Linked DNA regions of Homo sapiens: regions 1, 2, 3, 4 and 5 are each linked to region 6. Evidence: promoter capture Hi-C in 16 types of primary human blood cells and fetal thymus (Javierre and others, 2016). All regions are on one chromosome and are shown on one strand. The core of a region is centred on a gene start or on the middle of the fragment in contact, and the rest is flanking DNA. Distances in the headings are between cores, read along the strand shown.

Evidence for each region. The method cuts DNA at HindIII sites, captures the fragments that hold promoters and counts their contacts. A CHiCAGO score of 5 or more calls a contact.
Region 1: a contact is called between a fragment that was not itself captured here and the fragment with the promoter of FAM135B in region 6, in 3 of 17 cell types (M0 macrophages, M1 macrophages and M2 macrophages). The highest score is 7.3, in M0 macrophages.
Region 2: a contact is called between a fragment that was not itself captured here and the fragment with the promoter of FAM135B in region 6, in 2 of 17 cell types (M2 macrophages and M1 macrophages). The highest score is 5.5, in M2 macrophages.
Region 3: a fragment that was not itself captured here is called in contact with the fragment with the promoter of FAM135B in region 6 in 2 of 17 cell types (M2 macrophages and M0 macrophages); the score reaches 6.8 in M2 macrophages.
Region 4: a fragment that was not itself captured here is called in contact with the fragment with the promoter of FAM135B in region 6 in 3 of 17 cell types (M1 macrophages, M2 macrophages and M0 macrophages); the score reaches 7.6 in M1 macrophages.
Region 5: a contact is called between a fragment that was not itself captured here and the fragment with the promoter of FAM135B in region 6, in 3 of 17 cell types (M2 macrophages, M1 macrophages and M0 macrophages). The highest score is 14.5, in M2 macrophages.

The regions. Positions count from the first base shown.
Region 1 is chr8:138,214,391-138,219,051 of GRCh38, reverse strand. All of the region lies in intron 7 of FAM135B (family with sequence similarity 135 member B), which reads left to right. Among named protein-coding and RNA genes, the nearest start is that of FAM135B, 280 kb to the left of the region's middle. The HindIII fragment of the contact is 269 bases long and covers 2,473-2,741 here.
Region 2 is chr8:138,237,957-138,242,841 of GRCh38, reverse strand. The region is part of intron 7 of FAM135B (family with sequence similarity 135 member B); the gene reads left to right. Among named protein-coding and RNA genes, the nearest start is that of FAM135B, 260 kb to the left of the region's middle. The HindIII fragment of the contact is 4,969 bases long and covers 1-4,550 here.
Region 3 is chr8:138,137,603-138,141,968 of GRCh38, reverse strand. It overlaps FAM135B (family with sequence similarity 135 member B), which reads left to right. Exons shown (of 20, transcript NM_015912.4): 17 at 620-771; 18 at 2,873-2,983. Among named protein-coding and RNA genes, the nearest start is that of FAM135B, 360 kb to the left of the region's middle. The HindIII fragment of the contact is 516 bases long and covers 1,646-2,161 here.
Region 4 is chr8:138,194,539-138,199,128 of GRCh38, reverse strand. FAM135B (family with sequence similarity 135 member B) reads left to right here. Exons shown (of 20, transcript NM_015912.4): 8 at 1,460-1,613; 9 at 3,822-3,871. Among named protein-coding and RNA genes, the nearest start is that of FAM135B, 300 kb to the left of the region's middle. The HindIII fragment of the contact is 1,275 bases long and covers 1,467-2,741 here.
Region 5 is chr8:138,177,646-138,182,105 of GRCh38, reverse strand. FAM135B (family with sequence similarity 135 member B) reads left to right here. Exons shown (of 20, transcript NM_015912.4): 10 at 3,416-3,571. Among named protein-coding and RNA genes, the nearest start is that of FAM135B, 320 kb to the left of the region's middle. The HindIII fragment of the contact is 635 bases long and covers 1,255-1,889 here.
Region 6 is chr8:138,494,548-138,498,759 of GRCh38, reverse strand. FAM135B (family with sequence similarity 135 member B) reads left to right here and starts at 1,499. Exons shown (of 20, transcript NM_015912.4): 1 at 1,499-2,089. The HindIII fragment of the contact is 6,997 bases long and covers 1-4,212 here.

The DNA.
Region 1 (4,661 bases), core at 1,358-3,857, 280 kb after region 6:
ACAGCTCTCACTGGGTTAGCCAGGTAAGTAGGCACATGATATTTATCATCACCTGCAAATGCATTCAACTCATTTCAACCTAATTTTATTGTTGGAATTTTAGAAATAGTTTTATTTTCTATTTTGGTTCAATTTCATTTTCTTGCGGAGTATTTTACTGGTGCCTGGTAAGCAGTTTCCTGGCTGCGTTGCCTTGTCTGATGGGACAACATTCTATTCATAAATCTCTCTCTCTCTCTTTCTCTCCCTCTCTCTCTCTCTCTCTCTCTCTCTCTCTCTCTCTCTGTGTGTGTGTGTGCGTGTAAGTTTGGGAGGAGCAGGGCATTGAACAGGGTCTCTAGAGTGGCCTGTAGCAAACCTTAGAAGGCAAGAAATCCACTGCCCATGTAAAAAGAAAGGAGGAGGGATATCTATTGAGCAACTCTGTGCTGTATATTCAGTTTTTGCAAACATCATCTTTTTAACTTTTCTAACATCCATGAACATTTCTAAGTATGAGTCCCACTCTGTAAAGGAGCAAACAGGGGATCTGAGACGCCAGGAATCTTTTCTAAGGGAAATTATTAGAGCTCAAATTGTAACCCATGTCTATAATTCTGAACTCTTCACTATTTTCTATATTGGTATTGCACTAAATTAATATGTGATTGTGAGCAGGACATATTGCTATCCCCATGTGACTTCTATGGTCGTTCTCATGATTAATGTGTAGAGTGATTGACTTATGGTAAATATTGAATAAATGGTAGCTCTCATCTTTTTCCTTCTCCTGCTTTTATTTTTCTCACTATTTTTAGTAGAGCTTTAATTAGAAGTAATAGAAGTAGAATTATTTCTATCTTTGCTCATATGCACAGACATTTTTTGGTTAATTCAAGAACTGCATCTACATGGATTCCATTTTTATTTTCCCCTAAAGTCTCATTGCTCACACATTTGGAAGTCATCTTAGTTATCATGTTTCCATAAATACTAAATTTTCACCCATTAAAGTCTACCAATTATACTTAGTGTGAAGAGGTGGGAGTTAAATATGACTTCCATTAATAGTTTCATTGTTTGGAAGACAGAGGTAATTTTTGATACAGAAATAAGAATTCCTTACATTTATGAGATGGCCTAAAAGAATCCCTCCAGTATCTTGTCTTCATCCCATGGCTGTTTCATAGTAACATTCAACTTTTTCTCTTCCTACTTTGTCTCCACTGCTACAAAAACTCCGTGAAGGAAAGGACCAGGTAGTTCATGAACACTGATACATCCTCAGCGCCTCACGCATAGGAGGAAACTCACTGAATGCTGTTGTATAAAGAAATATATCGGCCGGGCATGGTGGCTCACGCCTGTAATCCCAGCACTTTGGTAAGCTGAGGCGAGCGGATCACAAGGTCAGGAGATTGAGACCATCCTGGCTAACATGGTGAAACCCCGTCTCTACTAAAAATACAAAAAAATTAGCTGGGTGTGGCGGTGGGCGCCTGTAGTCCCAGCTACTCGGGAGGCTGAGGCAGGAGAATGGTGTGAACCTGGGAGGCGGAGCTTGCAGTGAGCCGAGATCGTGCCACTGCACTCCAGCCTGGACCACAGAGGGAGACTCCATCTCAAAAAAAAAAAAAAAAGAAATATATCAGAGAACAAATGAATAGCCTCACATGGAAGGCTAGAGGCAAGAGATATTTTTTTCCCATCTTACAGAGAACAATGTTGGAATTCCAAATTACTTCTTCCCACTCTTAAGCTAAGAACTTTTTCAGTTATACCATTTTGTTGTCTAGATATGACTATCCAGAAGTATATTGATAATTCTAGCCATGAAGCACATTATTTCATTTAGTTACTATTTACATAAATATAGATTCTGAACAAAATTTCCAGACTCTTGACCTAAGTGGGCATATTCGTCAGGCATTAGATAATGGTGATGATGCTGTTGATGATGGTGGTGATGATGCTGGTCATTTTGGTGACAGGCAATGCTTACATAGATTATCTCACTTATCCCTCGCAGCTTCGAGGTGACTATTATTATACTATCATGTGCATCAGGAAACCAAGGCAACAAGGGTTTCTATTTGACCAAAGTCGCATAACCATACAGTGAAGAAGCTGGTAGACTCCACAGCCCAAAGCCCTGGAAAGCTCTGTAGCCTACTTATTATGTGTCCTCATGCCTCGTTTCCCCTTTTATAAGATGGTTAGGATTGTAGCTGTCTTTCAAGAACATGGGTTAGGCTATATGAATATGCTTATTGCAAAGACTACCAAGTCAAAGATTCCTGTGGATTAATCAGAGTTTAGAGAGCAGGTTTTCACTCTCTAATGAGCAACCCATCACTGGCTCTTAAATGGGGCTTAGAAACAGTAATACTTTCCAACCACCAACTTGTTCATAAACACATCAGACGACTTCAGGTATTTATTGCCCAAATGAGTGAGAAAGGCAGCACATCAGATGACTGACTTTTTGAAGCTTTCTCTTGGCCATTCTTTAGGATTCAGAATGAATGTTCCTGGCTCAGACAGGCATTACCCAGCACCCCTTACCTGCATCCTTTCCCTTTCTCCATTAGTGCAATGCCAATCTCACTGCAGACAGTTGTCTGTCTTCACTACAGGCTGAAGGCCTGGTGAAGGCAGAAATGTCTGCCTTCATGCTATAACCTTCAGCATCTGTGTAAGCACCTAGAACTCAATAAATATCATGAGTGTGAATGTTATTAAAAGATAGTCTGAGGAAAGCTTATCTCAGAATTGATCAGATGTGTCCTCTTCTATCTAGCTATCCTCCAACGGTTCTAAGTCTTATTGGTAGTGTCTTCATAAAAATTGTTATTGTAGTTATTTAGATTTTAATTGGCAACCAGCAACTCACTGCCACCATTCCACTGCAGATCTTCTATTCCTGGAGTTGATATGACAAGGAAACCCTATTGGAACCAAGTCTTCAGATTGTTCCATGTGCAGACAGGCTCCTTGTCTGTAGGTGTAGTAGCATGTACACTGTACTGTTCACTGTAACATAGTTTGTTCTGGTATTTGTTATTGGAAATGAATATCGCTTCCACTGACTTTTACCATCCCCTCGGACTCATTAATTGCTTTCTCTGGGTAGCACAGAGAATCCTGTTCTATGCTGATCTCATTCTCATTCCCGAGAGAATGTCCAAAGAAACTGATGCTTGCTCATGGCTGCCAGAATATCTTCTGGGGGCTTCTCTAATCTTTGCGTGGCATCACTTGTAGGATCTGAGCCATTCATGGGTGGGAGGAGGGTGCGGAGAATGGAGTGCCCATGCAACCTTCCCAAAGTGCCTTAGTTGTACTTTCTGACAATTATTATTGATGTATCAATTAATGCAACATGATTTGGGGGTTCTATAATGTTCTGTCTGTGCCAAAGCACTTTCATCCTCTTGTTTCATTTAATATTTCTGATAACGCCTCTGCAACTTGCTAACTTCTGTCATAGAATGGAAGCCTGAGGCTCAGAGACTGAAAGTGACTTGCCTAGGATTGTTCATCTAGTAAATATTAGATGCTAGATTCAAGATTCCAAGTCTAATGTTCTCTTTGCTATGTAATAGTTATTTCCAGGGATCATGGTGGTGAGTTTATAGATATAAGGGAAATGGCTCTATGGCCAACATTCAGATCAGAGTCCATACTTTCAATTAATAGAATAATATCAGTTAAAATATTATTTTGAGTATTTACTATTTTCTATCTCCCATATTAAGTTCTTGCACACGTTATCTAATTTGCTCTTCACTAGCACCCTACCAGGAATCTATTAGTTTTCCCTCATTTTACAGATAAGGTAACTTAGGCATAGAGAGATAACTAACTGGCCCAAGATTAGGTAGATTGTGGATGGTGGTTCTAGGGTTTGAGCCCAGGCTGTTAGACTCTAGATATTTAATCATGTCTAGATATTTAATCATGTCCATCTTCATGGGATCTAAAACTTTTTGAAAAATCTGTGTTGTCTGAGTCACTGGAAACCTCAGAATTATCCCCGATCCCTTCTTCTCTCTTATGTCTACGTTAGTGACTGATTTCTACAAACTGTGTCTTTGCTTTTTTTGCCTCTTCCCCTTCTTCCACTGCCTGCAAATATGTCCTAATTCCTTCTTATCCAGACAGTGCACAGACTCCCAACTTACTTATTTTTTTCTGATCCTCTTCCCTCTGCTCCATCTTCACCTAAGGCTAATTTGAGGTGCTGAATCTTACATGCATCATCATGACAAATAAGAGAGACCTTCATACTGCTTTATGCCTCTGAGTCTAAGCTCAGCTTCAACCTTGTACTTTCTGCTAGAATCGTATCAATTTTATTTTTCCCTTCCGCAGTAGGTTTTTCCTTATCTAGGTGCCTGGAATTTTCACCTATGTGTCCATCTGGCTAACTATGTATTTTAGACAACAGGATTATTTTTTACATGGTGTTTTTCTTGACTGACCCCAGAATGATGCAGACATCTTTATTTGTGCTGCAATAGCATTTATGTATAAATTTATCATAGCACTTATCAGACTCCTAAAATCATTAGTCTGTGTGCTCCCTCACATGCTAAACTGCAAAGATCTTGAACCCAAAGTCATACACAAATAATATTTTCATTTTCTAGTAGAGTTCAGCTTGGTGCCTAGTCCAGAAA
Region 2 (4,885 bases), core at 817-3,316, 260 kb after region 6:
GATTTTTGCTAATTTGACCCTTCCTTTCACCATCTTCCCACCCCTTGTTTTTATCACTACAAGCTCTATCAGACATATTTCTAAGGCCAAGCCCTGGGATAGATACAGGGAATATGGTCTTCATATGATACTTGTTATATGTGGTCTCTTGGAAGAATATGGTTCTCTGTAGGTCAGGAGGCTGTGCTGTGAGGGGGCCACTCAGACTATGTGATAACGTTGAAGGCCATGTCTGGTTTCAAAACCTGGCTCCCGCTTTCATTTGTGCACTCTCTGAACATCAGTTTTCCCACCTGTAGAGTGGGCTCCCCAATAGCTAATAATCTCATGGAGTGTTATATGTACCCAAATGTTGTAATAAATGTAAAGTTCCTAGCCCGGTATCCAATACTCACTAGCTGCTAACTAAATATGCATATCCTGTCCTTCCCCTTGTTCTTTTATCCTAGGAAACATCCCCTGCTCTTCTGTGATGTGCAGGGCTTTAACCACACAGGGTATGATTCTGCTCATATTTCTCCCAAGCCAGTATATGCTATGTTTTTATTAGTGGCCTACTCATAAATAAACAGCCTGTATTATTCAGGGTTCTCCAGAGAAACAGGACCAATACAGCCAATAGAACACACACACACACACACACACACACACACACACACACACACACACACACACAAAGAGATTTATCATAAGTAATTGACTCACATGATTTTGAAGGCTGAGAAGCCCCCAAATCTTCAGTCAGCAAGCTGGAGACCCAAGAGTGCAGGTGGTATCATTCCAGTCCAAGGCTAAAGGCCTCAGAACCAGGAAAGCTAGTGTTATAAGGCCCCTTGCAAGTCTAAGTCCAAAGGCAGGAGAAAACTGATGTCCCAGATCAAAGACAATAAATAAGAGAGACAGTTTTCTCTCACTCAGTCTTTTTGTCCTATTCAGGCCCTCAATGGATTGGATAAGGCCTATTCATGTTGGAGAGGGCTATCTGCTTTATTCAATTGACCAGTTCATCCAGACATACCCTCACAGGCTTACCTAGAATAATGTTCAACCAAACGTCTGGGCACCTTGTGGCCCAAGTAAGATGACACGTAAAAGTAACTGTCACATTAATAGTAACTATCACTACTAATTTCTGAGTAGCCCACATTATAAGTGTGATAAACTGTCCATGCCCAGTCAGCCCCGCAAAAGAGGTGTTCTATCCTCCTATACAGTCAGGCTCTGTGCACAGACTGTTCAGAATATTAGGTAATGCACTCAGCTGGCTCTCCTGTGATGTTATCTTTGCTAGCTCTGAGACCCAGCCAGGAGGTCTGGTGGCAAAAGCTGCCCAACTCATGTCTTCATCTTGTCCAAGCTGCTGTGTCACATGATTTTATGGTCCTGAGAAGCAAAGAAAAGAGTTGTCAAGAACCTGCTGAGGGGACCTGAAGCCAGAATGGGGTTCTGTGCCATGGAAGGAGCAGATTTTAGAGCCAAATAAGACCAGTTCCAGGGTAGACTCCGGTGACTTGTAGATGCAGAACTTCAGTCAACCACTGAGCTTCTCAGAACCTGACGTCCTTAGCACTGACGCAGGGCCCAGCACATAGGAAGTGAATGAGTAAGAAAGCGAGTGGAAAGCAGTGAGCCCTGTAGCATGTCATTGGACTGTCCCTGCTGTGGGTCCTTTGCTACAGGACCATCACTGAGGCAAAGCTCCCCGTGGTCGGCCGAAGCCTTTGCTGTGACTACATCACAGTTCAGCTTCTCCCTATGTCCAGTCTTCCTTCCTTCAGCCCCCACGTGGGCTGGCACCCAGAGTTTCAGTAGACCCCATTGTAGAGACTGAAGAGTCTCAGAGCCAGTGCTGGCCCTCAGAACGTCAGAATCTACTGCCTGAAAATCTTCCACTCAAACTCTGTTTTCCAGGGAATGTGGCCTGGGGCGTTAGGGAATGTCAGTGGTCACAGATCAATTCAAAACACTTTCAACACTCATCTCCCAAGCCAAGGGCCTTTGCTGAGGCTGCCACAGGAGGTTGTGAAGATGATTATGAGAAGGTTTCTGTCCTGAGGGACTCTGATGTGCAACTCCCTGTACACCCTCCAAGACTTTGTCAGGTGCCACCACTAATATGAAAGTACTCTCTGATTTCTTAAAAAGAAATACTTTCTCTTCAATTCTCTAGGCATTTCTGTCCTTCCTCCACTGGGCTCTGAGTGGCTGGGAATAGAAACCAACTCATTCAGCTCCCCATCCCTAGGGCCAGCACCATGCCTGCCATACTCAGTGCTCAATAAAAGTGTGGGGAATGAATGATACAAATGTGTGAATCATATTCATGTAGGAAGCTGAGAAGCAAGACACTGAGGCCACACAGACCATTCATTGCTTCACACGGCAGGAGCCAGTAACCAAATGGGAGGCAGCTGTGGAGTGAGGGGCATCTCTGCTGACGTGTGTGTGCCCAGCTCAGAACGTTAGACCTGGTATGAAGTGGGATGGAATGGCACACATGATAGACCATTTCAGTCCACCAGACTCTGTTACAAATGACATATCTGAGCACGGCCCAGCCAAATTTCTATCTCGGAGACTGTTACAATGCGGTAGAAAGCAGACTCTGGTTACAAATGCCTCCTATGATAAATGCTATGTGGCTTGGGGGAACTCATTCACTCTTGTGGAAACTTAGTTTTCTTTTCTTTTCTTTTTATACTTTAAGTTCTAGGGTACATGTGCACAATGTGCAGGTTTGTTACATATGTATACATGTGCCATGTTGGTGTGCTACACCCATTAATTCGTCATTTACACTAGGTATATCTCCTAATGCTATCCCTCCCCCCTCCCCCACCCCATGACAGGCCCTGGTGTGTGATGTTCCCCTTCCTGTGTCCAAGTGTTCTCATTGTTCAATTCCTACCTATGAGTGAGAACATGCGGTGTTTGGTTTTTTGTCCTTGCAATAGTTTGCTAAGAATGATGGTTTCCAGCTTCATCCATGTCCCTACAAAGGACAGGAACTCATCCTTTTTTATGGCTGCATAGTATTCCATGGTGTATGTGTTCCACATTTTCTTAATCCAGTCTATCATTGATGGACATTTGGGTTGGTTCCAAGTCTTTGCTATTGTGAATAGTGCCGCAGTGAACATACATGTGCATGTGTCTTTATAGCAGCATGATTTATAATCCTTTGGGTATATACCCAGTAATGGGATGGCTGGGTCAAATGGTATTTCTAGTTCTAGATCCTTGAGGAATTGCCACACTGTCTTCCACAAATGTTGAACTAGTTAAACTAAAGAGCTTCTGCACAGCAAAAGAAACTACCATCAGAGTGAACAGGCAACCTACAGAATGGGAGAAAAATTTTGCAATCTACTCATCTGACAAAGGGCTAAAATCCAGAATCTACAAAGAACTCAAACAAATTTACAAGAAAAAAACAACCCCATCAACAAGTGGGTGAAGGATATGAACAGACACTTCTCAAAAGAAGACATTTATGCAGCCAATAGACACATGAAAAAATGCTCATCATCACTGGCCATCAGAGAAATGCAAATCAAAACCACAATGAAATACCATCTCACACCAGTTAGAATTGCACTCATTAAAAAGTCAGGAAACAACAGGTGCTGGAGAGGATGTGGAGAAACAGGAACACTTTTACACTGTTGGTGGGACTGGGAAACTTAGTTTTCTTAACTGTGAAATGGGATCACATCTACCTTCTAGGGAGGATTTCAGAAGTTAATATGTATAAAAACATCACAGAAATAGACTTAGGCCCATGATACAGTATAGCATTTTCTTTTTATTTCTCTTCTTGGCTATTTTTGGGGATGTGTGTCAAAGCAGACATCCCTGTCTTTGACCAGACTCAGATAAAATGGTTTATTTGTGAGTGCTTAGCTTTGAACTTGCTCATGGAGTTTAGCTCAATGGGTTATTTTCAGGACTTGATTCTTTTCCTGTGCATTTTCCATTTGAGTCCCATCCAATTATGCAGATTCAGTGCTGTGCACCCACCCTGTGCCTTCCCACCAGACAAGTGCTGCCAAGCAAAGAATAAAATCCACTCCCTCCACCTCCCCTGGGAGCTTTGTATCCAAATCCCTGAGAAGCCCAGCGCATTAACAAATAACATTGGAATCCGCACAGATTGTAGCATCAGCTGGAAGGATTAGAGAACAGGTGTTCCCTTCAAAATAAGCCTTTCCTTGCAGAGACATTTGCAAAACTGGACTTTCATAGCAATACGAGCTGATTGGCGTAAAAAATCACAGGGAGGTAAGGGTTGCTGAGACAGGCCATGTCTTTTTCTCATTAGCCCTGGCCCCTCTCCCCTCGTGGCCTCTTTTCTTTCCTACAGCACCTTTGACATCTAGACATTCCACATTTAGAGTTGGTGGAGCAAGCGCTTATGTTCCCTCTGCATCTGAAACCAGCAGCTTCACACTAGGGGAATTATTTACCCTCTTTGACTCTTGGCTTATCAGTCAAAGGATATACTAATGCCTGGCTCACAGGGTTGCTGAGAGGATTAAATGAAATAAGCTTATAAAGGCCTTGAGCATACAGCCTGACACAAACATGCCCAGTAAAAACCTCCTGCTGATATTATTTTTTTCTGTCATTTATCCACATAATTAAATCAAATCTTCCTCCAAGAGCTTCAATGCAGCCTTGTGGTGAGACATTGAGTGAAGAGTCTGCCACGTGGTTTTCCTCAGTGCCAACCTGCTGTGTGACCTTGGGCCAGGCACCTACCCTTCTGGGTCTCAGTTTCTCAAGGTATAGAGAGATAATTGGATATGATCATCCCCGAGGCCTCCTTTAGCCTTTTGTGTGCTGCTTTTACTGTGATATCCCTGACACTGCCTGGTCCAGTTGG
Region 3 (4,366 bases), core at 654-3,153, 360 kb after region 6:
CATGAGTAGAGGTGGGGAGGTATAGCCTCTCATATAATAGGCTCTCAATAAATAAGTATTTAACTTGAGAATAATGATTCATTGAACACGTGGGCCTGTGAGTAGCAGTATGGCTGGAGCAGAGCCTGCAGGAGGGGGTCTAACAGCATGGGCTGTGAGCAGGTGGTTCAATATATACACAGCGGGTGAAGGAGAGGATGAATGGCATTGTGAGGCCATCCGTATATGAATGGCCTCCCAAGCAGGATAAGGACTTGGGACTTGATCCTGTGAATGACCAGGAGATTTCAATGCTCAGAGGTGCATTTCAGGAAGGACCTTCCCTTCCCCCAGGTGGAATTAAAGCAGGCTGCTCTAGCAGCATGAAGCTGGCTGAAATGCCCACACTTCTCCCCTGACTGGGCACAAAGCTCCCATTCACAAAGACCCCATCTCAGGCTTCTCATGGCCAGTGTTTTGAAACCTGATGAGGTTGAGTTGGCAGTCCCTGTTCTCTTTGCCAGTTCCCCTACATTCAGTGGGAGGTGGAGAACAATGGCCCCTGATGCTTCCAGCACTGCACTCTTGGGCAGCAGCATTCACCGTCACACTCATGGGTACCCCTTCTGTTTCTCCACAGCTTCATTGGCCATTCTCTTGGCAACATCATCATCCGATCGGTCCTCACACGGCCCCGGTTCCGGTATTACCTCAACAAACTCCACACGTTCCTGTCACTCTCTGGGCCTCACCTGGGAACCCTGTACAACAACAGCACCCTGGTTAGTACAGGTAAGATTCTTCTAGGACTCGTCATTCCTCAGAATTAATCTGGGGCCTCTGGGGCGTGAAACCGGGCACAGGTACTTCCACTTGGAACCCTGTGACTGTGCAGTCTTTTCCAAGCATGGCATGGAGGGAGGAGTCCTGGCCTTAGAGGTGTGGCCCTTGTGTCTGGGGGCTGAGTGAGGTGACACTAGATGTTTTCCAGGATCATTTCTGCCTTCAAATTTCTGTGAAAAAAAGGCAATGTCTCTGGGGTCCTGGTTGGAAAAGACTGACAAGACACGGTGTTGTGATGAAGAGAACAGGGACTCTGAATCAGGCCACCTGCATGACAAACCTGTGGTTAAGTCCTGACCAGGACACTTGAGGGAGACTGTGGCCTAGACATTTAATCTCTGTGCTCCTCAGTCTTCCTGTTTGTAAAATGGAGGTTATGTGTGTGTGTATCTGTGTTTGTGTATATGTATGTATACATATATGTATGTGTACAAGCATGTACACAATGTAAGTATGTATACATATATATGGTGTGTAGGTGCATATGTGCATATGTGTATCATAGAATTGTTGAAGATTACACAGGGGAAGGAAATAAGGTTGACTAACATCTATGGGAGGTTAAATATATCAGCAAGAGTCAGACAAAGAAGGACCTCGACTGACTCCAGAATATGTTAGACTTACCCTGTAGACCTTGTAGATACTACTCATGAGATTTTACTGAGGAGGTGACATGGTTTGGTGTATGGAAGCCCAAGGAGGGCATTGAGTTTTATATGTAATAACAAATCGTTTATTAAATCATGTTCTTAACAACTACCTCAGTAGTCCCTGATTGTTCAAACCCATTATGTGGCATTAGGGTCACCCCTGATAAGCTTCCTTGTCCCTGCAATCTTCCAGGCCTCTGCCACTGTCCCCTGTCCTCTCCCACACTAACGTTGTTTCCTCATGGCCTGGTCAGTTTAGTTAGTTTGCTTTTAAGTTATTTTATGGCATACTTGTGAACATGAGTTATCCGACACAATGGCACATAACAAATGGAAGTCCTTTCCTCTGCACTCTGTCTTTCCTCCCAAACCAAGGAAGCCATTCTTTGGACAGAAACAAATTTGTTAAACTACATTTTTCCCCCACAGTTATAAAGGAATCTTGCAGCATCATAAAATATTTTTTAAAAAGACAGACTTTACCAATAATATCTCCAATCTAGCATATCCAGAGTAATTTTATATATTTCATTCTACTTATCTTTGTGCACACACATTGACGTAGCAGTCAGTGTAATATATGTACATACCATAGCTTGCTTATTTCCTTGTGTTTCTATCAGATTAATTTGCTTGTTGTGGTTATGTAATCCTTACACTCATCAATGTTAGTGTTTGCCTAAGCTTAGCTAAACGCATGAGATTTTTGTTGTTGTTGTTGTTTTTTGAGAGAGAGTCTTGCTTTTGTCGCCCAGGCTGGAATGCAATGGTGCAATCTCGACTCACTGCAAGCTCTGCCTCCCAGGTTCAAGCAATTCTTCTGCCTCAGCCTCCCAAGTAGCTGGGATTACAGGTGCCTGCCACCATGCCTGGCTAATTTTTTAATAGAGTCGGGATTTCACCATTTTATCCAGGCTGGTCTCGAACTCCTGACCTCAGGTGATCCACCCGCCTCGGTCTGCCAAAGTGCTGGGATTACAGGCATGAGCCACCATGCCCAGCCAACAGATGAGTTGTGAAGTGAGACATTTATTTTAGCTTTACTGTATCCTAAATGTATCTGTAAGGATCATTTTATATTCTTTTCGCATTGAAAATTATTACCCTAGGCTTCTTTTTCGGAAGGAGATTGACTGGATTGAAGAGTGTGGGTAGTTTCTTACTCCGAAGGCTGTTGTCCTGTCATCATTTTTGCAGGATGATTTAAGTCCTTTCCACCAGTACGTGAGAGGACAAATTTACCTCTAACTTCCCAACTATTTGCTAGTATGCCTACTTCTCTCTTATTTTCAAGTTAACTAAAATTCAGTTTAACGTTCATCTCACCAAAATTCCATCCCAGTTAGTTTTTGTTTTGTTTTGTGTTTTTGATTTTTATTTTGTTTTTGTCTTCCTAGGCTTATGGCTCATGCAGAAACTGAAGAAATCCGGGTCTCTACTGCAGCTGACCTTCAGGGATAATGCTGATTTGCGCAAATGTTTCCTCTACCAACTAAGCCAAAAAACAGGTCAGTGGTTTCCCCCACAGCTGCAGTTATGAGTTTGAGCTTGGGATTCAACTCCTGAGACACAAATGAGATATAATGCTACATTGATTCACTCACAGAAGGGCCTAGTCAGGAGGCCCAGCACTCAAAGCCTCTTTGGCTCATTGGGAGGCCAACAGCTACCAGGAACTCAGCTCCTCTTGCCCATTGCCCATATGGCACGTGAGAGATTGAGCCAAGGTGTGTGTAAGATCATTTCAATAGCCAGAAGCTGTAGCTTCCACTTTGTGCCAGTTTTTCAATGTTCTCATTGCATAGGCCTAAGATCTGTGTGCCAGCTTCACCCAGGTACAGGCCCATCTACAAAAAAGGCAGATGCAACATTTTCCACTGATGTTGACTGTGCAGTGGGAGACGGGGGTCATTGTCAGGCAGGCCTGCTATGATACCTGCACCCTCTCTCTGTCATGTGGAAGTGCATAGAGGTGTTGAAGACCCTACCTGCTACATGGGAATGTCCACAGAGGACAGCAGTAATGGTGATCATTGCCGAGTGGTCCCCATGTCCAGTCGGCGAGTGGAGCAGCTGACTGATTGCCCTGCTCAGTCCCACCACACAAGCTGGCCTGGCCCAGGGTCTGTTCTTGGTCACAATCTTCCACCGTCCTGTAAACACTGACTCTGCTGATCCCTCTGTGCCTGTGAATCTGGTGTAGCCACGGGCTCATCTGTGAGCCTGGCTGAGTTCCTTTCCTACTTTCTGCCTCTGTGTGTTGAGTTGAGCTCTTAGAGCTATCTCCTGTGGAGGAGGAGGAGGGAGGCAGGGCTTGGCAGAAGAAGGTGGGACTGCAGTGTGATCACTGTAGAGTCCATCAGGGGTGCAGGAGCTGGGGTGGCCCTGGAGAGCTGTCCTGAAGGAAGGGGAGGGGCTGACCATTACACCTTTGTCTTCCTCGCCCATGTATTGGCCAGCTGTTGAAGTAGGCTGCCCCCAATGTGTGATGTCTGATGAGGGGACCCACACTTCAGTAGGGCACACATAGCTAAGAGCTGACAGCCGCCCACCCAGCAGGATCTGGGGAATGAGAAGGACAGTCTCAGTACAGATGGAGTGTCCGGGTAGTCTGCAGTGCTCAGGAAGTTCACGATGGGCTCTGAGGCCTGCAGGGATACACTGTGATGTTTAATTTGAAGGGTCCCTCTGTCTGCATTGTGGGGACAGATTGCAGGAAGGCAAGACTGGCTGCAGAGAGGTGAGTTCTGAGGCTGTTTTCCTAAAGCATGGGACGTGGTGAAGGCTGGAATTAGGAGAGGTGCTGGAGTTGAGGAGGAAGAACAAGATAGTCAGACTGACTTTTCCTTATGAACCCCTTAATATTTCTATCCCCAAAAGGCTTTTTTGGT
Region 4 (4,590 bases), core at 855-3,354, 300 kb after region 6:
TGGATCAACTCAGCCCTCTTGGATGGCAGCTAGGAGAAAGGAGACCAAGCAAGGCAGAAGGATCTCCAGTCATTGGCTGTGCAGACTCACTCGCAAAAGCCAAGGGTGAAATGCCACCAATTCCTCACCTGGCGTTTCTTCCAGCAGGCAGACAAGGTGGCCTGGGAACATGAAGAGCCACGGCCTCCTCCCGTCACGGCCATGTGAACAGTAGATGGGCACGAGCATACTACTCAAGGACTCCCATCTCTGTGCCCAGGCCTTTTCCCACACGATTCCTTTCTCTGCTCTAAGAACAAATCTCTTTGAAATTCACCTCAGGACATCCTTCTCTGTTGAGTTGGCAAGAAAAAAACTGTCCTGTTCCTTCCTTTTCATCATGCCTAGGTCTCCAAGTGCACTGTAGACTTAGGTGTCTTTTCCTCATTGGACAAATTACTTTGTAATTGTACCAGTTTAATCCATTCTATTTCTACAAACAAAATATAATGTACAGTGTTCTGACACTGCATGCTCACATGCAGAGCTGTTTACAGGTGTGCTTTCAGCATTGGTTACTTAACCTCACAACTTCTTTCTACATTACGATGACACTTTCTTTTCCTCCTTTTCAGCACGACCTACTGCTCACCCACCTGCTACAAGGGTCTTTCTAAATTTCTTCTCTCTGCAAAGGAGCCCACAGCCACCTGTCCCATGGCCTCTATAGTGCACCCTGCAGTAGTGGGGAAAGAAGGTTTGTGTATTAGTCCATTCTCAGGCTGCTAATAAAGACATACCCAAGGCTGGGTAATTTATAAAGGAAAGAGGTTTAATGGACTCACAGTTCCACATGGCTAGGGAGCCTTCACAATCATGGTAGAAGGTGAAGGATGAGCAAAGTCATGTCTTACATGGTGGCAGGCAAGAGAGCATGTGCAGGGGAACTGCCCTTTATAAAACCATCAGATCTCATAAGACTTATTCACTATCATGAGAACAGCATGGAAAAACCCCGCCCCCGTGATTCAATTACCTCCCACTGGGTCCCTCCCATGACATGTGGAGATTATTACAATTCAAGGTGAGACTTGGGTGGGAACACAGAGCCAAACCATATCAGCTTGTAAGTGGGGCCACTCGATTGTCTCAAACCTGTGAGGCCAATGTCCTCATCACCTTCATGATCATTCGTTATTATTGTTGCTATTTTATTATTTTAATTTGAATATAAGACAAAGGTGTGGCAGATTTCAGTGTTGTCTTGCCTGGAGGGATAAAGAAGCAATTCCAGCTCAGGACTCTCTTTTTCCTGGAATCTTCAACCATGTTCCAGTTTTACTCAGGATGGGGTCTGCTTCCTTCCCTGAACCTCCAAACATTTTGTGAATGTTGGTGCGGGTGGATGGAGCATCACAGCCCTGTGCTGCCTGGGCCAGGTGCAATATTCCTCAGCCTCTGTTTCTGTTTCACCCCTTAGGGAAGCTTCTACATCACCTCTGAGAACTGCATGCAGCACGCACACAAGTGGCACCGAGACCTGTGCCTGTTGCTCCTCCACGCTTACCGGGGTCTCCGTCTCCACTTCCTGGTGATCATGCGGGACATCCCAGAGCTGCCACACACGGAGCTGGGTAAGGGCCCAGGACAGGGGCAAGCCCATCCCAGCAGCTCATGTGCCTCCTCCACACAAGGGATGGGGAAAAGCTGGCATGCTTTTGTAAATGTCACAGGAATAACCCTGGTCCAGGTAGGTTTGGGCTGTGATTTTTATTATTCTACCAGGAGAGGATCTGGGAAATGCAAATGCAGTAAGAGAAGACACATGTTCCTCAAGGCACATTCATTCACTCATGCATTCATCTGCCAGACATCTATTGAGTACCTATTACACACCTGCCACTCCACTGCATAATTTTAGGTTGCTTTCTAGAGGAAAATGCTGGTTTATAGCCTTTTCTTAATTAAGCTGTAATTATGGAATTGTAACTTACAAGAGTGTAAAACAATCCTCATAAAAACTATATATATACACACACACACACACACACACACACACACACACACACACACATATGCATACATATATGCTTGAGCTGGATGATTATAGAAACTTCTTAGTATCCATTACATTTGGTTATCTGGGGATCAGTTGATTTTTGCACATGGATTTTCCAAAGATGAGACATCATGGAAATCAGTGGGCTTGAATCTCTGTTGATTGACAGACGATGGACCTGAAGCTCAGAGAGGTAAAAGCGTTGCTCAGCATCACACAGTAATGTGTGGCAGAACCATGACAGCTCAGGGATCCTGTGCTGATGCCTTGGGGCAGGGTCCTTTGTGTCATGTCCCACTCAGTAAAAATAGGTGATATGTTCTGGCTCTGCTCAAAGTTCTCTAATAAGGCCTCATTGACTCTAGAACAGAGGCGAAGTCCCCAGCTTGCTTTTCAACGATAACACCCATTTCAACATTAGAACCCTGCTGGGTACATTGACTTCCCTATATGTACCCCTAGACCTCAACTGCTGAGATAACTGTGGTTTTGACTGGGTCAATGGCCTTGTTCATTGTTCATTGCTGCACTGAAATCATCACGTAAAAAATTTATTTGCATGTTTTGCTTCCCAAATAGACTGAGGTCTTTAAGAGCTGATTCCCCTCAGATCCCTGCCACACTCTCTCCGGTATGTAGAGTAAAGGAGTAGGTACAGGGTTATAGTTGTTGAATTGAATCTGGAGCCTTCTTACTATAAGCTTTGTCAGCTCTCACATCATATACAAATCCTGTACTCAGGCACTACTCTTTGAATCATGCAATCACTGAATTTTTTCAAGTTCAAATCTTATGCATGCAGGAATGACCTGCACAGAATCAGAGTGACTTTATATAGCTCAAATGAAAAATGGAGATTTTTCAGTAGCAGTTGGATTCCTGATACAACTTTTTATATTATATTTTATCCAAAGGAGCTGAATTTATTTGTTCATTCACACCCTCATCATATTTTACTGGACATGTACTATGTGTCAGATATTGTGCTAGACACTGAGGATACATAGCCGTGACTAATGTATCAATAGTTCATTTTGCCTTGCGGGGTTCAGGGACCTGAGGTCAGCGGTGAAGTAGAGAGGTGTCTACTAATTAGGTCATCAGCAAGGACCGTAAGCTGCTAAGGGATTGTTTCCACTCAGCTAGGCAAGCATGCTTTAATTAAAATCCATGCCAGAGCCGTGTGCAAATGACTGACCACAGCATCATGGAACCAGAGGAAAGTTCAAACCCAGTCACAACTGTGACCATTAAAACAAATAGCCAGAGGCCACCTGGTTTCTGCTGATAAGATGGCCACATTCTTCAGTATCAGAGCTGGTGGAGCTGAGCAGGAGGTTCTCAGGGCTTCTGATATTTTATCTGTAAGATAGAGATTCAAATCCATCTTCCATATATGATGCACAGATGTATACCTGTGTGTGTGTGTGTTTGTGTGTGTGTGTGTGTGTGTGTGTACCTGCAAAAACAGAAATAAACGTGGAATCTCTCTGGGCCACACAAAGTGCTGTATGAATTTGGGATGTACTGCTTCTCATAACCGTGTGCATGAGGTGATATTGGCTTTTATCTAGTGCTCAGTCCAGTCCATGGCTCCAATCAGGTTCATTCTCCTGATAAGCACAGTCCCTTTAGGAAGTTAGAATAGGTAGAAGGTCCTCAGCAATGTGTTTGTCTCTGTGACGTTAATGCCAATGTGAAACTTTTGCTTTTTCATTTAATTAGCAACTGCTGCATTTCAGTGTGGGTTCATTTAATCACACAGTTTATTTTTTCTTTCTAGAGGCCCTTGCTGTTGAAGAAACACTTTCTCAGCTGTGCTCAGAGCTACAGGTAATTGGAGAACTGGCGCTGGGGTCTGAATGAATGGCAGTAGTTTTGCAAGGCAAATGCAGTTGCTTGCTTGCTGTAAAAAACAGAAGTGAAAAGACACCACTTGTAACTTCACTCTAGATACCAAGCTGGAGAAATATTCTTACATTCTGTTACCCTACATCACTGTGTTCTATAAGTATGTGCCTTGCTAGATATTTTGGAAAAACTAAACATGTTAACAGATTTTTGTTTCCCCGAAGCTTAGGCTACACATATGTATTTGTCCATTACCCATCCATTGAACAAACGTTTGTTGACTGGTTAACTCAGTGCTTCTCACTGTGGATGACAGAATCTTGTACCTGTGCACAGATGGCCTCAGACATGGCAGGGAGGCTAGAGTCAGTGATGATCATGAAAACAGTCACATGCATTTGCCAACAAAGCCTCATCAAGCGTGCATTAAGAGTAAAGGCTGAATAAATATTTGACAAATGCATGCTGCTGCTATTTACAATCTCTGGAACACTTTTACATCCCCCTTGTGTTAGATATCTGGGTGGGTACTCTTATTTCTCTATGAAGAAGAGGCAAATCAAGATTGGAAAGAAGTCTATACCAGGGTGACTAACACAGCTAATCAGTACTAGAAGCAGGACTCAAAGTCTCATCCCCCAAACTGACACCTCTGTCTGTTAAACCAGTGTTTCTCAACTTTGTCTGTACATTAGAATCAT
Region 5 (4,460 bases), core at 323-2,822, 320 kb after region 6:
TGCCACTGTGGTGGCAGCGTGGTAGTGGTGCTGTGAGTGAGGGAACAAGGAGGCCGGGAGAGGCAGTCTGAGTTCCGGAGGCCTGGGACACCTCCCACGGACACCGAGCCACCTATTCATTTTGTAAAGAGTCACTGACCCTCACTCTCTATCAGCTGTTGTGCTGGGGCTGGGAATAGTGAGAAGGCTGAAGCTCAAAATGCAGGGGATGTAGGAAGTGAAGCCAGCAACATGTGGGTGGAGGTGCTATGAGTGGTGCCCGTGCAGGTCAAGTAGACGTCAAGAAGGATCTTAGACTTACACGCGGAGCATTGGAGAAGGTTCAGAAGAGTCATCAGAAGCAATATGGACTGTGTGTGGACTCTCTGAATTTAAAACAAAAGTTGAAATTATTTAGAGAAAAAAAAAAGAAACAAGGAGACACAAAATTGGCTTCTGAAATGGTTACCTGGTAGAGGACAGACAAGTCCATAGTGATGAAAAGAAGAAGAAAGGAAACTGGAAGGTGACGGGGGAAGGTGCGCAGGGAGACCAGCAGCCTGAACAAGGGCCTGGGATTGGAGAGGACCAGGTGTGTGTGCAGCCCACTGCCAGCAGGTTGGTATGGCTGGGAACGGGAGTGCACTGGGCCAGGATGGGAAGTGGGCAGAGGTGAGGTGGGGGGCATTTTCAGGAGCAGTTGTGCCACGTGCTGATGCATAAGGTTGGGTCTTATTAGTGAGAGGCACTGGTTCAAGAATCTATATAGAAGTCACTTACAGTTCATCCAAAAGCCTCACTCTCTAGCCAGGAGGTTTTGTAATGACTGACCCTGTCCGCCATATTCCCCATTCAACTTTTACTTTTCTTTTCTTCTTTATTTTTTTGAAACGGAGTCTCACTCTGTCTCCAGGCTGGAGTGTAGTGGTGCGATCTCGGCTCACTGCAACCTCTGCTTCCCAGGTTCAAGCAATTCTCCTGCCTCAGCCTCCCGATTAGCTGGGACTATAGGCACCTGCCACCATGCCCGGCTATTTTTTTTTTATTTTTAGTAGAGACAGGGTTTTACCATGTCGGCCAGGATGGTCTCGTTCTCTTGACCTCGTGATCCGCCTGCCTCAGCCTCCCAAAGTTCTGGGATTACAGGTATGAGCCACCATGCCCGGCCCCAGTTTTTACTTAACACTTTTGACCATGATGTATGGGAATGGGCCAAGAATGGCCATTCCCTGTTTGACCCCTGCCTGCCCCAGAGCCAGTGCTGGAAGTAAAGCTTCCATCAGAAGAAAATGCAGGCGATTCCCTCATTTTGGGGTTTCATAGCTTGTGTCATCATCACAGACTTATCTTACCTTTTGGAAGAAGTAGCTCAGAGATGATGCTGTGGCTGAATGATGTTCTGTATCTGGAAGCAAGTCATCCATGATAAAGCAAAAATATGCAACATTTACAGAACCTTACTGTGTGCCAAACTCCTCCTTCCCTCTTTCTTACTCTTGGATGTCTCACTTTACCCAATTGGTCTCTATCTAGCACTAGTCTTCAGTCTAAGAATAGCAGAAGAAAATTCCAGCATTTCAAGCTAGGCATTGGACTTGGATCTCCTCATATTTTACACCCAAAAGCAGTAATTTGTTTTGCATACTCACTTTACAGATGGGAAAACTGAGGCACAGGGCAACGAAGAGAAAGGAATGGGATTGGATGTGGCTATGGCTGTGTGTCCCTGGTCTATTGTGCATAGTAGAAAGCTCCGCGGCACTTTTAATTGTTAACTCACATTAATGAGTGGAAATATCCACCATTGAACAAAGCTCCCTACGGACAGAGACCCTCTCTTGTTCATCTCTGAGTTCTCTCTTATTCTAAACATGTGCCTGGGATTAAATGCTTGAATAAGTGAGGAAGCTTAGAGGTCAGTGACAGGCTTTGGCAACTGGCTTCCTGCCATCCTCAGAGATGTGACCTCTCTTCTCACCTCTCCAGAATTCGAGTTACTCCCCCAAAAGATGGTTCTCCTGGTATTAAACTGTAGCTATCTAAAGCATTTCTGTCCAAAGGGTCTTCTCCCAAAGCCTCTAGGCCCTTTCTAGTCTAACTCCTCTACATTTTAGTTAATGTAACCAGGAATCTCCCGTAAGAAATGTGGAGTGAAGCCAGGTGTGATGGCTCATACGTGTAATCCCAACACTCTGAAGCAGGTGGATCACTTGAGCCCAGGAGTTCGAGACCAGCCTGGGCAACACAGTGAGACCCCGTCTCTACAAAAAGTTGTCTGGGTGCAGTGGCATGCACCTGTAGTCCCAGCCAGAGGTTGAGATTGGAGGATTGCTGGAGCCCAGGAATTCGAGGCTGCAGTGAGCCATGATCACACCACTGCACTCCAGCCTGGGTGACAGAGCGAGACCCTGTCACTAAAAGAAAAACAAAAACAAATGTGGAGTAGTGTGAGGAGGATGGTGGAGAAAAGCTATGGAGCACCTATCGTGCATGAATTGCCTCAGTCCTCAGGTGCTTTGAGGTTACAGAGATGCTGTCTTCTCTCAGGACGTTTTTTAAACACTTACTATGCGAAGGTGACATGGTGATGTGGCTTCATAGTCATACATCCCTTCCATTGAATCCCTGCTGTATGTGAGGTTGGGCATTCTTTTACTGACTTTCATTTCACTTTCTGTAATTGGATGGCCACAGTAACTCTACCAAAGGGTATCTGGCAGGATTAGATAGGGAGCACCGTCAAATGCCTAGTACTCTACCTTACACATAGGAGATAGTGATGATTGGAAGTTATAACTGCTGTGAAGTACTGCGTCCAGAATTTGATGGGATACAGAGTAGAGTCCAGTAGATGGATCTGGGGTACCTTGAAGAGTTTGGGGAGAATGTGAGTAAAAGGTTTCCAGCTGGGGCAACTGTGAAGACGTCATAAAGCAAGTGTTGTTGGCTCTGGGCATTGAAAAGTAGGGTGAATTGAGTTTTGTGGTGATGGGATTAGAAGGCTTGGATAGAAAAGTTGAAAGGGGATATCCAGGATAAACGAAGAGCGAGGGAAAACATTCAAGGTGCAAGATGTTTATGGAAATCTAAGAGTAAGCTGTACTCAGAACATACATGAAAGTAAAATGAAATGGAAAAGATATACTGGGACTAGGTAGTGGGCAATCTTGCCTGCTAGACTAAGGGCTTTGGATGTTTTTCTATAGATAGGAACTACCTCAATAATTTATTGTTGCCATTGCTGTCTTAGCTTCCAGATCAAACGTGATAACATGATCCTATAGTACTATGAGTTGTAATATATAATACTACAGATGTACAGAGAAAGGAGAGTGCTTTATTGAAAACAGAAAAGTCAGTAAAGACTTCAGGAAGAAGACTGCTCCTGACTTCATGGAGTCAGGAGCCTTGAATACCACCTTTTTTGCCTCTCCAGATGTTGAACAATCCAGAGAAGATCGCTGAGCAGATAAGCAAGGATCTGGCCTGGCTCACGTCCCACATGATGACTCTGTGGACCCAGTTCCTGGACACAGTCACTCTGCACTCCCAAGTGACCACTTATCTCACCCAGGAACACCACACCCTGAGGGTGAGTGGCCAACTGCTGTGCATTCTCTGATCACATGCATTTGATTTCTTTGGAGGAACCTTTATGAGAATTAGATCAAGCATTAGGATTGGCCTCTAGATCTTCGTGCTTTCGTGTCTCTACCATGACCGTGCAGGGTGGCGTTGTGAACTTCCTTAGCCTCTCAGGCCTTTGCTGTGTCATTCATAGAATACTTGCCTTGGCAATCTCAGAGGATTTCAGAGCCTATCACAAGAAATATTAAAAGTATTTTGGAAAAAGTGCTTTTCTTTTTTTTTTTTTTCTTTGAGATGGTGTCTCGCTCTGTCACCCAGACTGGAGTGCAGTGGTGCAATCTCCGCTCACTGCAATCTCCACCTCCCTGATTCAAGCAATTCCCCTGCCTCAGCCTCCCGAGTAGCTGGGATTACAGGCTCACACCACCACACCCGACTAATTTTTTTTGTATTTTTAGTAGAGATGGGGTTTCACCATGTTGACTAGACTGGTCTCGAACTCCTGACCTCAGGCAATCTGCCCGCCTCAGCCTCCCAGAGTGCTGGGATTACAGGCATGAGCCACTGCACCAGCTGAAAAAGTGCTTTTTAATGTAAGACATTGCTCTCTGTGTGTTTCTCTGCCACCAGCTTAGGTACATATGGGTAGGTGCTGATGCATAACTAAATATGCTGGTATTTAGATCAACATCTAGTTAGAACAAGATGACAAAACATATGAAGATCAGAGTCCACAAAATGTTCAGAGAACATACATGACTGGGTTTGGGAATTCTATTTCATCTGCATTTATTTATGGACCCTGTTCACAGAGGTCTTATATTCTAGTAGAATAAATAAGACCTCAAGTTAAACACAATAGCAAAAGCAATGCAAGAACAGATTCATAGACT
Region 6 (4,212 bases), core at 250-2,749:
ATGTCAATAGCAAAATAAATGCCATATGGTTATGAACACATTTAAGAGACAAATATTGTAAAAGAAAAGCACCCATTTTCTCTATTGAGAAATTCATATTTATTTGCCATTCACCAAACATTTACTGAGGGTATGCATTGCCCTGGGCTTGCTGGGTGCTGTGGGGAGGACAAGCAGGGTAGATAGCTCAGAGCCTCCATCTGCCCAGGCCCACTATGTCAACAGCCTCCTTAGGACACCTCTTTCTGCAGCCTTAATCCCCACCCTAGCCAGCACCACACACACTTCAACTAAGGTGATCTTCCCTTCATTCCCACCCAGCCTTTCTCCTGCTTAAACTGCTTCACTGCCCTCCTCCCCACCACCTTCCCCATTCCCTTCCCATCCTAAGGGTCACATTGTCAAATTCCAACCCCTTCACTTGGATCGCAAGGCCTTTGGTGTGCAGTGCCTGCCCTGTAAACCTCACCACTCGCCTGCCTCACCTCTCCTTGCCTGCTGCTGCTAGGTTCCTGCTGTTCTGTCCTGCCTCCAGGCCTCTGTACCCTGCTCCTCTTGTCCTGGAAAGAGCAGTCTTCTCTACCCTTCACCGCCCCACTCATTTGTTCTTATACCTTTTTTTCAGGTATCTTTCCCCAATTACTTGCCCCTGCCCCCAGCCTGACAGGGTTAGAGACTCCTCCTGCCAACTGCAATTGCCTGGTTCCATTCCCTGCTTCCTCCTGGGGTGTGAGTTAGTGCAGCCCAGTCTAATGGGGGACATAGTCATCCTCTAATGCCTGGTTCCATTCCCTGCCTCCTCCTGGGTGGAGTTAGTGCAGCCGAGTCTAGTGGACGGGTCACTGGGCTTCCGAGTCCCAGTCTTGGCTCCTTCTCTAAGGCTGTTTTGTCATCTGTCACAGGCATGCCACGAGAACTTGCCAGCACAGTGGTGGTGATAATTAGAGTTCCCAATGCCCCTTAAGAATGCTCAGTAGACGGGAGCTGGCTTAACCCTCCCCAATCTTCCTCTCCCTCCTCCGTGGACAGAATCTCACACGTCTGTGAACCCCCACGTTCAGCATGAAGTGAGGAGCCCATCGGATGACGGGCCGGCTGGCTGGTTGAAGGCCACTGCTGACTTCGCATTGGAGGTATGGGTTGCTCAGCGCTTTTACCCTTTCTCAGGCATCTACTTGTTGCCTGGGCTTCTCTTCCAAGTTCAACAGTCCCCTCCCAGCCAGTTCTCCGCCGCGCCCCGCCCCCGGATATCTGCAGGGACCCTTTTCCTGCCCGAGGCCTGGGGTCTTGGCTCGAGAGGGGAGCCCCGCCGCGGGGACTGAGCATGCTCGCGCCGGTCAGTCTGGGAGGGCCGCACGCGGGGCCGCAGCCTGCGCCCTGGGCACCCGGGCGGCCGAGCGGGCGGGGTTTGGCCGCCGGGCGGCCCGCCCCGGGCTCCCATCAGGGCCTCGCGGCGGAGAGGGACCGAGGTGGGAGCGCGTGAGCCGCGCCGCCAGCCAGTCGCGCAGCGTCTACCCACGCGGTGCGCAGCGGCTGCGGAGCGGAGCCAGCGGGAGCAGCAGGGCGGGCTCTCCCGGCCGCGAGGGCGCGCGGCGCGGCGCGGAGGGTCTGGCCGCGTCCCGGCGGAGGAAGGAGAGGAGTGAGGGCGCCAGAGGTGAGCGCAGCCCGGGAGGCGCCAGCCCAGCGGCGCGGGCGCAGCCGGTCGGTCCTTGCTTTCTTGCGGCGCTGGCGGCTGCGTTCCCCCGACCGCGCTGACAGCCTCGCGTCCTGGCGCCTGCTCGCTGGGGCTGCCCGGAGGCCGCGGCCGGGCAGCTGTTGCACGGAGAGGGGGGCAGTTGCGGGGTTCCATAACCATAGCAACCGCATCAGCACCGGCGGCGGCGGGCGAGGGCAGCATCCGCTCGCTCCTCCTCCAGGCAGCCTCGCCGCGGGGACCCAACACCAGCTCGCAGGTGCTGCGGACTCCCCAGTCCGCCCGCCGCCGCCGCCGCCGCAACTGTTGGCGGCCAGAGACGGCGAAAGAGGAGAGAGAGGGACCCAGGAGCGCGGCCCCCGGGGGAGAGAGAGGGGAGCCCTGCAGTGGAGACAGGTAGGTGAGAGCGCTTCGGGGTCGGCAGCTGCAAAACTCTCTCGTCGGTGGTAGTGACGCTTCTGCAAGCGTGGTTGCCAGTTGGATGGCTTTCTGTCACGGAACAGCGATTCCGCCGCAAAATGTGGTTTATCTCCCTCGATTTTCCCCAGTCTCTCTGCCCTCCAGGTTTGCTGCACATCTGGACAGGTCTTGAGGGGATAAGAAGGGCCAGGGCTGTGAAAGGAGCGGAGAGGCTGGGTTAATGAGGGGTTCCCCCCAGGAGTCCCAGATGGAGGCTGAGGGGGCGCATGCAGACCTTGGCCATTGGGGTCCTTGGAGCCAGGGAACCCGGGGGCCAGGCTCAGGAGAAGACCGCACTGGGGTGGAGGGGACAGTGGCAGCGATTCCCTGTGATCCAGGCGAATGCACAGACCCGTTCTTCCTGTGGCTTGGCTGGGGACAGGGGTGTGCGGGGACACTGCAGCTCAGCTGTGACATGGAAAGGGACCAGCTCTTGATCTGTAGAGCCAGCTTCAAGCCCAGTCACTGGAGGGGATGTTTAGACGAGGCAAGTAGTAACTGTTATTATTTTGGGACACAGGAGTATCATGTTATTGCCGTTGACTATTAGGGATAGGATGGGAATAGAAATAAAATTTTGAGCTAGCAGTCAAGACTATGCCCTCCCCTTCTCCCCACCTCATTTCTAGCTCCCCACCCCACTTTGCCAGCAAAACAAGAATCACATCGCTCATAGTGACAATCCTTGCTCCTTGGCCACTGGCAAACTATCTCGCTTTCAGACAGCTGGAGACACCGCTTCAGTTGTCCATTTGAACCAGGGGGCATTGTTTTCCATCAGGTTATGATGCTCTTGATGTTAAGTGATGTGTCAAAGCCGAGAGGCACCTGGGCTGTCCATACAGTGTGATGGACTGTTAACTACATCTGCAGGCTGGAGAGAGGGCCAGAGCTTGGGGAGTGATTACAAACTCAGATCAGCTGGGACCAGGGCCCCGGAAGAAGGAAGATAGCATGTGAATAATTAGGGTCTGAAAGTTCGTGCATGTAGGTAAGTAGGCCTCTGAATAATATCCAGGATAGGCAGCCATTGACTTTGAAAGGGCTCTTCCTTTATATCGTGGCCTCGGGGGACAGTCTAAGTCCCAGTTAAAAGGCTATGTTCTTTAATTGGGCTTTTAATTTATGGTGTGGTTATGTTACCCAAGGGGATGTGATTTGGCCAACCTCTCATCTGGAGATTTATGTCATAATATGGATGATGTTATCAGAGCTTAGACAGATGGTTAGGTGTAGAGGAAAGTGGACCAGATTGGAGGGTCAGAAAACATGGATTTGAACTCTGATTTCCTCATGCACCTGCTGTGTGACCTTGAGTTGTTCCACCTCACTGAGGCTTCTTTCTCTCATCTGGAGAATGGGGATACTAACTAACAAGTCTTGCAGTTTACCAGGCTCAATCACAATCCAATGGGATGTGGAGAGGATGTTTGGGAAGGGCTTTTTAAAACCTGATGTCTTGTGCAAGTAAAAGGGATTATTGTTTTCTAAAGAATCTCTCTTCCTCAGATTGGCAAATCATTAAACATCCATCAACTACGAAAAGAGAGTGGAAATATTAGTCAGTGACTCACAGTGGAAACACTGTAGTCTGGTCCAAGATTCACTCAGGGCAACATAAAGAGGGCTTCTCAGGGGAAAATGCTGCATGCCATCCACCTTGCCTACAAGTGCTGAAGGTCAAGTGCTTTGCCATCAAATGCAGCACTCGTCTAGTTTGAAACAGTGAGGCCTGCTCACAATGGGTGGATTAAGTTTTTTTTTTTTTTTTACAGTATAAACAGAGATTTAGACAGAGTAGGGACTCATTTAACTGTTCACCTCGGGTTGTGGGTTTCTCGTGGGCAGGATTACTTTCATCCAACTCTGCTCTGTAATGTCAGGTGTTTACCAAATATTTGCTCAATTTGACTGAAATAGACTGAATGCTGACAGGTTGATTTTATTGCTGAAGGAATTATAATTTCTGGAAGGAACCAAGACTGTCTTATACTATTCTCTGCTCTTTTATGCCCCTGATTTTGCTCATGGTGGTGTCCCTGCCTAGAATAACAATTTCT